2 separate regions of the Homo sapiens genome follow, and region 2 is linked to region 1. Evidence: promoter capture Hi-C in 16 types of primary human blood cells and fetal thymus (Javierre and others, 2016). All regions are on one chromosome and are shown on one strand. Each heading gives the region's core, a stretch centred on a gene start or on the middle of the fragment in contact. The rest is flanking DNA. Distances are from core to core; before and after follow the strand shown.

Region 1 (3,780 bases), core at 1,248-3,747:
TAGAGCTTGGGCTGTGGCTTCAGAGGGTGGAAGCCCCAAATCTTGGCAGCTTCCAAGTGGCATTGAGCCTGTGAGTACACAGAAGTTACGAATTGAGGTTTGGGAACCTCTGCCTAGATTTTAGAAGACGTATGGAAATGCCTGGATGCCCAGGCAAAAGTTTGCTGCAGGGACGGGGCCCTCATGGAGAACCTCTGCCAGGGCAGTGCAGTAGGGAAATGTGGGGTCACAGCCCCCACACAGAGTCCCTACCGGGACACTTTCTAGTGGAGCTGTGAGAAGGGGACCACCATCCTCCAGACCCCAGAATGGTAGATCCACCGACAGCTTGCCCTGTGCACCTGGAAAAGCTGCAGACAATCAGTGCCAGCCCATAAAAGCAGTCAAGAGAGAGGCTCTACCCTGCAAAGCCACAGGGGCAGAGCTGCCCAAGACCATGGGAACCCCCTCTTGCATCAGTGTAACCTGGATGTGAGACCTGGATTCAAAGGAGATCATTTTGGAGCTTTAAATTTGACTACCCCACTGGATTTTGGACTTGCATGGGCCCTGTAACCCCTTTGTTTTGGCCAGTTTCTCCCATTTGGAATGGCTGTATTTACCTAATACCTGTACCCCCATTGTAGCTAGGAAGCAACTAGGTTGTTTTTGATTTTACAGGCTCATAGGTGGAAGGGAGTTGCCTTGTTTCAGATGAGACTTTGGACTGTGGACTTTTGAGTTAATGCTGAAATTAGTTAAGACATTGGGGGACCATTGAGAAGGCATGATTGGTTTTGAAATGTGAGGACATGAGATTTGGAGGGGCCATGGGTGGAATGATATGGTTTGGCTGTGTCCCCACCCAACTCTCAACTTGAATTGTATCTCTTAGAATTCCCACGTGTTGTGGGAGGGAACCAGGGGGAGGTAATTGAATCATGGGGGCCAGTCTTTCCCTTGCTACTCTCATGATAGTGACTATGTCTCACGAGATCTGATGGGTTTATCAGGAGTTTCCGCTTTTGCTTCTTCCTCATTTTCTCTTGCCACTTGCCCTGCCATGATTCTGAGGCTTCCCCAGCCATGTGGAACTGTAAGTCCAATTAAACCTTTTTTTCTTCCTAGTCTCAGATATGTCTTTATCAGCAGCATAAAACCGAACTAATACAGACACTCTCCACGCTACACAAATAAGCCTGGTCTTCCACAGAGCCACCTTGCCCTGAGTTTACATCATAGAACTTGCTAAGCTACCCTCCCTTTCCTGATAATTAAGTGGGTAGTAGTTATGTGTGTTGTGCGTTATCTTTATCTACCTTTATTATCTTAAATCCCACACCTGCACCCACTGTGAGGTCACTATTACTGTTTTTTCAGTTAAGGAAATAAAGACTGAGAGAGCTTCTCATGATCATATACCTGGTGTCAGAACCAAGATTTGAACCCAAGTCTGCCTGATTCAAAAGCCCATGCTCCTAATGACTATGCAGTGCTACTGCCCTCATCCCTATCAGGATGGCTTGTTCAGGGGGTGCACCAAGCTTTAGGCACTCCCTGCACATGCCATTGTGGTTCACTAAGTGGAAAATTAATTAACAGTTACTGAATTTTCAGTTATTTTTTTCAGTATAATTTTGTCAACAAATAAATACTTACAGGTCTAAGAATTTTTTATGTTATGAAAAGGGATCCTCATTGTAAAATATTGAAATCCAACTCCTTCATTTTATCTACAATCTAGAAGATTCTACATTAGTTCAAGTCGTCCTCATCCTTGAGATGTAAAAGAAATTGCTCTGAACCACCCAATTTCTTGACCCCTTGTGAAGATGTCTACAATTCCCAAGGGTGGAAGAATTAAGTCTTATTGGTGCCCTCTGCCACCCATGCCCTAGAGTTCTCCTGCTCCACCTCCATCTTCTCCTATAAAAATGCACCTTCTCATTCAGTAGCTAGAAGGTGGCCAGGCAAAGCAGGCATTTTGTAAATTTTAGTTGACTGGGGGAGGGAACAGATGAATAATGCAGGATGTGAGGCTTTGTAGGTTAAGATCACAAGAAGAGGTGGATGGTTATCTACTATCTCCCCCCACCAAGAACTTTTCTGACTCTGAGTTTGAGATGTCCAAAGAAAGGCAGAATCATACCTTTCTCATTGATTCTTATGTTTACAAAGTACCTTTATAAAGCGTCTACTGTGTTCCAGGTACCATGTTAATTTCTAGAAGTAAAAATGTCAACTCTGTCACTGTCTTCAAGGAATCCATAGTGGGAAGCAGAGCACACAAACAGATGTTTACAGCACAACATGATGAGTGGTTTATTACACACAAAGTATTCAGGAAACAACTAAGAGGAAGAAAAACCATCTCCACCTGGAAAGACTGGAAAGGCTACACACCAGAGCTCAAATTTGAAATACATCTCGAACAAGGATTTGGCCATGCCAAGACAGTTGAGTGGAAGGAAGTACATTCTAGGCAAAGAAAAAGCACAAATGTGACCTACAAATGAAAGATTGGTGAGTAACTCTGCATAGCTGGAATATAGGCATAAAAGAGAAGGCAAGAAATGAAGCTGAAATGGTAAGTCAGAAGTGTATTATTTAAACCCTTGTTTGTGGTGCTAAATGGCTGGGCAACTAGGAGTCATGGTGTGATCAGATCTGTAGTTTGGAAATTCAACTGGAAACTGCTATGGATGAGAGCTAGGAGAGGGGAGAAATTAGAAGCTATTATAGTGATGATGGCAACCAATGGTGAGGTGATCTTTAGGTCATCACTGGAACCTGACCTATAGTAGACATTCAAAAAATATTTTCATGTAATTGAATTTGTCTCATGAGCTCCTTGATCTAATATACTGAGCAACTAGCCTTGCTACCATATCTTGTAAAATGCCACTCGTGTTATACGTTGTGGGAATGCTTAGGTGCCTGACCAGGATTTTAAGAAGATATAGAACTAACTTAGTATTTATTTATAGGTCGCCCATCACATGCTAAGCATCTTCTATACATTATCTCATTTGTGCCACACAACAATCCTTCAAGACAGTGTTTTCACCATTTTACACAGGAGTAAAATGATGTTCAGAGTAACTAATAAACAAATTTATCCAACTAGGGGTAAAGCCAGATTTTTAATTCAGTGTACATCTAACTTCAAAGGCACCTGTAAATTTGGGATATTATGGCAAGAGAGGTACTGGTAAAGCCACATTATCTTTAATCAAATATTTTAGAATAGCATCCACAGGAGTGTGCATGTGAGACCCCTGGCCTGGGAAGAGGAGTTTGCATCCTGATTTCCTTTTTCACTGCATATGGCAGCAAACCATAATGAGTCAGACATTGTCATAACACATTGCATAATTCCAATGAAGCATTCACATCTCAACTACTCTTGATTATTTCCAATTCCGTAATAAATGAAAGAGATCAACTGTTCGGTGGTTTGAGGAGGGTGGAAAATCATTTAATTCTTAAGTACCATTAAATATTTAATACTATTATAAGGAGGTAATGTCACTTTCCATAATACATTTGGCTTCAGGTACACTGGAATCCAGATTTTGACACCTCCATACCATGATAAATTTTTGACCCTGAAATTTTATTTGAAATCACGACTCCAAAATCTCCTGTAGCCAATCTACCAGGAGTAGTATCTGTCAACAGAGAGAACATCATATAAAGACCTTAACATTTTGAAAGCAAAGCCAAATGAAGCTCAATCACGAAAGGTCTTTTCTTTCTTTAAGGTGAGAGATGGAGCACAAATGAAGCATACCATGGTAA
Region 2 (4,089 bases), core at 619-3,118, 290 kb before region 1:
ATGTTTAACTCTTTGATGTGTATTTATTACAAGATATATTCAAGAAATAAATGATGAAAAAATAAATACAAAAACTGAGACAGTCACAAAAAATGCATAACATATCAATCTGGTTGTTCAGACAACTGGTTGTTTTATATCACTAGGAAAAATTTACTATTATCTTTTTATTTTATAAAAGATAACTTTGCTTACGATTATCATTAGTCTCAAAAGGTGAAATCCCTCATTCTTTTTAACTTCGGACTAAATTAGTGAGGTAGTAAGTGCTTTTGGAAAAAACCTCAACTCTATAAGGAATTCATTTTTCATTATTTTATTAATTTTAATTAATTCAATCTTTCAATATAGTATTTAGCACATTATGCAATAACTCCAGGATCAGATTCTTCCCTCGAGCTTTAGATACACCATCTAAGAGTGCTTTTAGACTCATAATCTTGTGGGGAAAGTTTGTTGGAAGCTTGATTTTCCTCCTCTCTCCACGCCTAGCTGTGTACCTTTGGGTAAGTCACTTAACCTTTGAGTTGGTTTCCATGACAGTTTCATAATATCAGACTATTACGAGTGTTGGGAAAATAAATTGGGTAACGTGAGTGTGAACTGCCCTGAGTTCATGGGAACAGGTCAAAATACTATAAGTTTCACAGTATTTGTGTTTGTGTAACGGGTTACAGTAAACTTACATACATGCACAATGAGGAAGATAGTCTGGCCTATACTTTGGGGAACAGCAAAGTGTAAGTAGTTTTGTTTCCTCTTTCTTCCATTCCAGTGTCAGTTGCCCTAATCCTTACCCTGACCTTGGAAGGGAAGAATTTTAAGAAAAGTGTTTTTTTTCTCTCAAGCTGTGCTACCCATGAAGATGTCCGTCTCTGTCTGGCTTGCAGCTGAGTTTGTTCTGTTCTACCCACTGTGTTCTCTGCCAGTCAGTAAGAGAGAGTATTCTGCAGCAAAGGTGGAATACCATTGAGTTCCAGAGCCCTAAAAACGAGGGTAGGAACACACACACACACATCTTGGACTAGTTTTAGGTCAATATTTGTTACCAAGGCCAGGAAATTTATTCTCTACAATGTCTCCTGGTAGACAGACTTTAAGTACCAAGAGGGCAGGAATTGGGTCTATCTTTTTTGCCCCTGTTGCCCAGAGTCTACCATAATGCATGACATCAAGTATTTAGTAGATGTTTGTTGAAAAAAAAATGGATCAGGTCCTTCCTTGACTTCCATTCTCACCTAGTTTGAATGCCTAATTTGGATGCCTGTTACCTCTAGTCTGAATTATTGCAATGATCTCCTGCCAGATCCTCTGACCACCATTCACTCTCCCACCAGTTTAAAGTCCTTGATGTTAATCCTCTCAACCATCTGCTGTTACTTATTCCCTTGCTCACAGTTTTTCAGTGAGTTCCGATTGCCTAACAATTCAGTATAAATTCATTCCATTTTTTTTGAGAATTCAATGAGGCAATGTAGGTAAATCACTTAGAATCATGAAGAGGATATAGGATATAGTCAATAGAAAATAGCTATTATTATTGGTATTGCTATTATAATTTTAATTGCTATCATTATTATTGCTCAGCCTATAATTTATTTTGCCTTGGTTATCATAGATAAAATCTTATCTATACTTCTAAACCAACCATTTTTTATGTCTGCTGATTTTTACCACCCAGGCTTGACCTTTCCATCCTTCAACCCAAATTATCTGTGCTTCTCTCCTGGTTTATAGCCAGTTCTTCCTTACTTACAGGTGTGTCTTTAATGCTCTTGTCCTCCTAAGGACCATTGTAAGATTTTTAAGGACGGAATCAAGTTTTGTTCCTACTGATATCTTCAATAACAGCTTTCCATCATAAACTAAACTGTCTTTGAGACTTTTTGTAAGAATAAATTAATTATGGCTAAATGTATGGGGAATTACTTTATTTACATCCAAGCAAAGTTGGTTACTTAACACTATTCCCCCTTAGGAATCAGTTGATGCAGTGATGATTCTTTTTCAGGGATTTAGAAAGGAATTCCTACCACTGCTGCCTCTCCAGATAGCACAATATTGCCATACTTGCCTTACCCCATGTTTCCATTTCTTTACCATCTCTCTCCTTTCTCTGGGCACAAATCCTGGACAGTATCTTGGACTCCTCTCCTTCCCTTGTCCCCAATAAATAGTCATTGGTTCAGTTGGTCTGTTAAACTGTTTCTACAGGGTGCTCATTTTCCCACTGGCACTGGTCTAGTGAAGGCTATTGTCCTTTTAGGCCTGAGTTTTTGTGGCATTTTTACACCAAACATTAGTCTTCCTAAAATAACAAAGTTATAACAATGCTTTGCTTTACCTAAAAACAAAAGGTAAAGAGCAAAAAACAGAAGAAAAACCGCACTAACAAAAACTCCAATGGATCCCAATTTGCTAGAAAATAAAGCCCCTAATCCAAAATGCAATCTCCTCTTTTACAATTTGATGTCAAATTTATCGTCTTTCTAGGCCCATTTCCTGCTTGTTTCCTCTACACAAATCTTTAGCACTGGTTAACAACTGGAAATATGAATAGAAGCTCTTGGCCCTTCAACTGTGCTGAGGTAGGTCCTTCACTTCTCTTACCTCTGACACTGACAGCGTTCAGGAGATGAAACAATAGATCAAGTAGGCAAAGTGATAGTTCCATTCATCAAGCTCCTGCAAAGCCTTCCAGGCCCTCTTTCTTGAAATTTTTACAGTATGTAATATTAAAAGCATTCACTAATTAGTCATTATTCTTAAAATAGTTTGGGATATTTCTGTGATCAGCCAATCTACCTGTATACTGTTTGATGGCAGGAAACATCCTTCACACCAGCATTTTCTAATTGGTTATTAGAAAAGTTATTATCAGATATTCCCTGGAAATTGGCTCTGAGGTCAACTCAGAGAGCTAACTTCACCCAATGGATAAAGATAGCTCCCTCTTGGAGCTTCACAATGAGCACCAATGTGCTAAATACACTTAAGTCTAAAACTCTAAAAGTCTAGGAAATCCTTTAGTAAAGAGACCTATTTGGCTTATTCGACCAGGCATCATCGTAGGTAATTAAACTTATGTGAAAGCCTCTCTCCTCTTCCACTGGAACACCTAAGGAAAACAATTTTGTAAATAAAGTTTTATATTACTTTGTTTCAGAAAAGCATAAATATTCCCCATACATATATTTTTCTATCAACTGACTGTTCTCAACTCTTGATAAAAAAAAGTCCCCACAAAACAGTCATAAATAAATAAAGACAAAATGAAGCTTCCACATTTTATTCAAATTGAAAGCATTTGGAAAGTCTATAAAGATCACAAAGAAAGTAGGTTATCAGTAAACTCTAGCCAATCGATCCTTTGCCTGTAAACTATTACAATTGTATTTGAGTACACGGCCTGAGAACCTTCCAAAGGAATATATACAATCTCATTTCAAGATCAACCCACTTCTTCCTATCCTCCTCCATTAAAAGTCCTTCCAAAGCAGAGATTTTTACCATGGGCATATTCACATGCAATGTTTTATATTATTTAGACTTTTCTTAATAAGATTTGGCATTATCTAGATATGCATTTCCCTAGGAGAAAGAAAAGCAGCAGTGCAATCTCCATCTAAGGATGCCTGAATTAAACCTTTAAGAATTCACCTTTTTTCCAGTTTTTGATATTAGATTCATGTGTTATGCCTGCCCATGACTGTCTAACCACGAAACTAACTGGACATTAAATCAGATGGCATACAAAATTACAGGAATTTGATCTTTAGATAAACCACAAACCTTGATGAACTAATGTTGTTCCAGATGAATTAACTCATCCTGAGAAACAGAACATTTCATAGGAGCGACCACACAGTCTTCTCTGCAAAGAACACTAATGGCTGTGATTAATTTGTGTTCTATTGAACGTGCTTGCTTCTATTGAAAGTACACCTAAAAAGGTGTATACTAAAGGAAGGAAGAAGGCTTAGTCAGGCAATTCTGGCCTCAGAATAATTGCCCCACCCCAAATCTCTGATGGTGGATGCTGCATATTACTTATACTTGGTTATGATGTCTGTTACAGCGTTAAGAAAC

What was found. Contacts are between HindIII fragments. The CHiCAGO score rates a contact against its expected background, and 5 or more counts as called.
Region 2: a fragment that was not itself captured here is called in contact with the fragment with the promoter of MECOM-AS1 in region 1 in 1 of 17 cell types (megakaryocytes); the score reaches 5.2 in megakaryocytes.

Annotation. Positions count from the first base shown.
Region 1 is chr3:169,445,370-169,449,149 of GRCh38, forward strand. MECOM-AS1 (MECOM antisense RNA 1) reads left to right here and starts at 2,498. Exons shown (of 5, transcript NR_134932.1): 1 at 2,498-2,566. All of the region lies in intron 1 of MECOM (MDS1 and EVI1 complex locus), which reads right to left. The HindIII fragment of the contact is 2,681 bases long and covers 1,522-3,780 here.
Region 2 is chr3:169,153,226-169,157,314 of GRCh38, forward strand. All of the region lies in intron 2 of MECOM (MDS1 and EVI1 complex locus), which reads right to left. Among named protein-coding and RNA genes, the nearest start is that of LINC01997, 150 kb to the left of the region's middle. The HindIII fragment of the contact is 2,815 bases long and covers 462-3,276 here.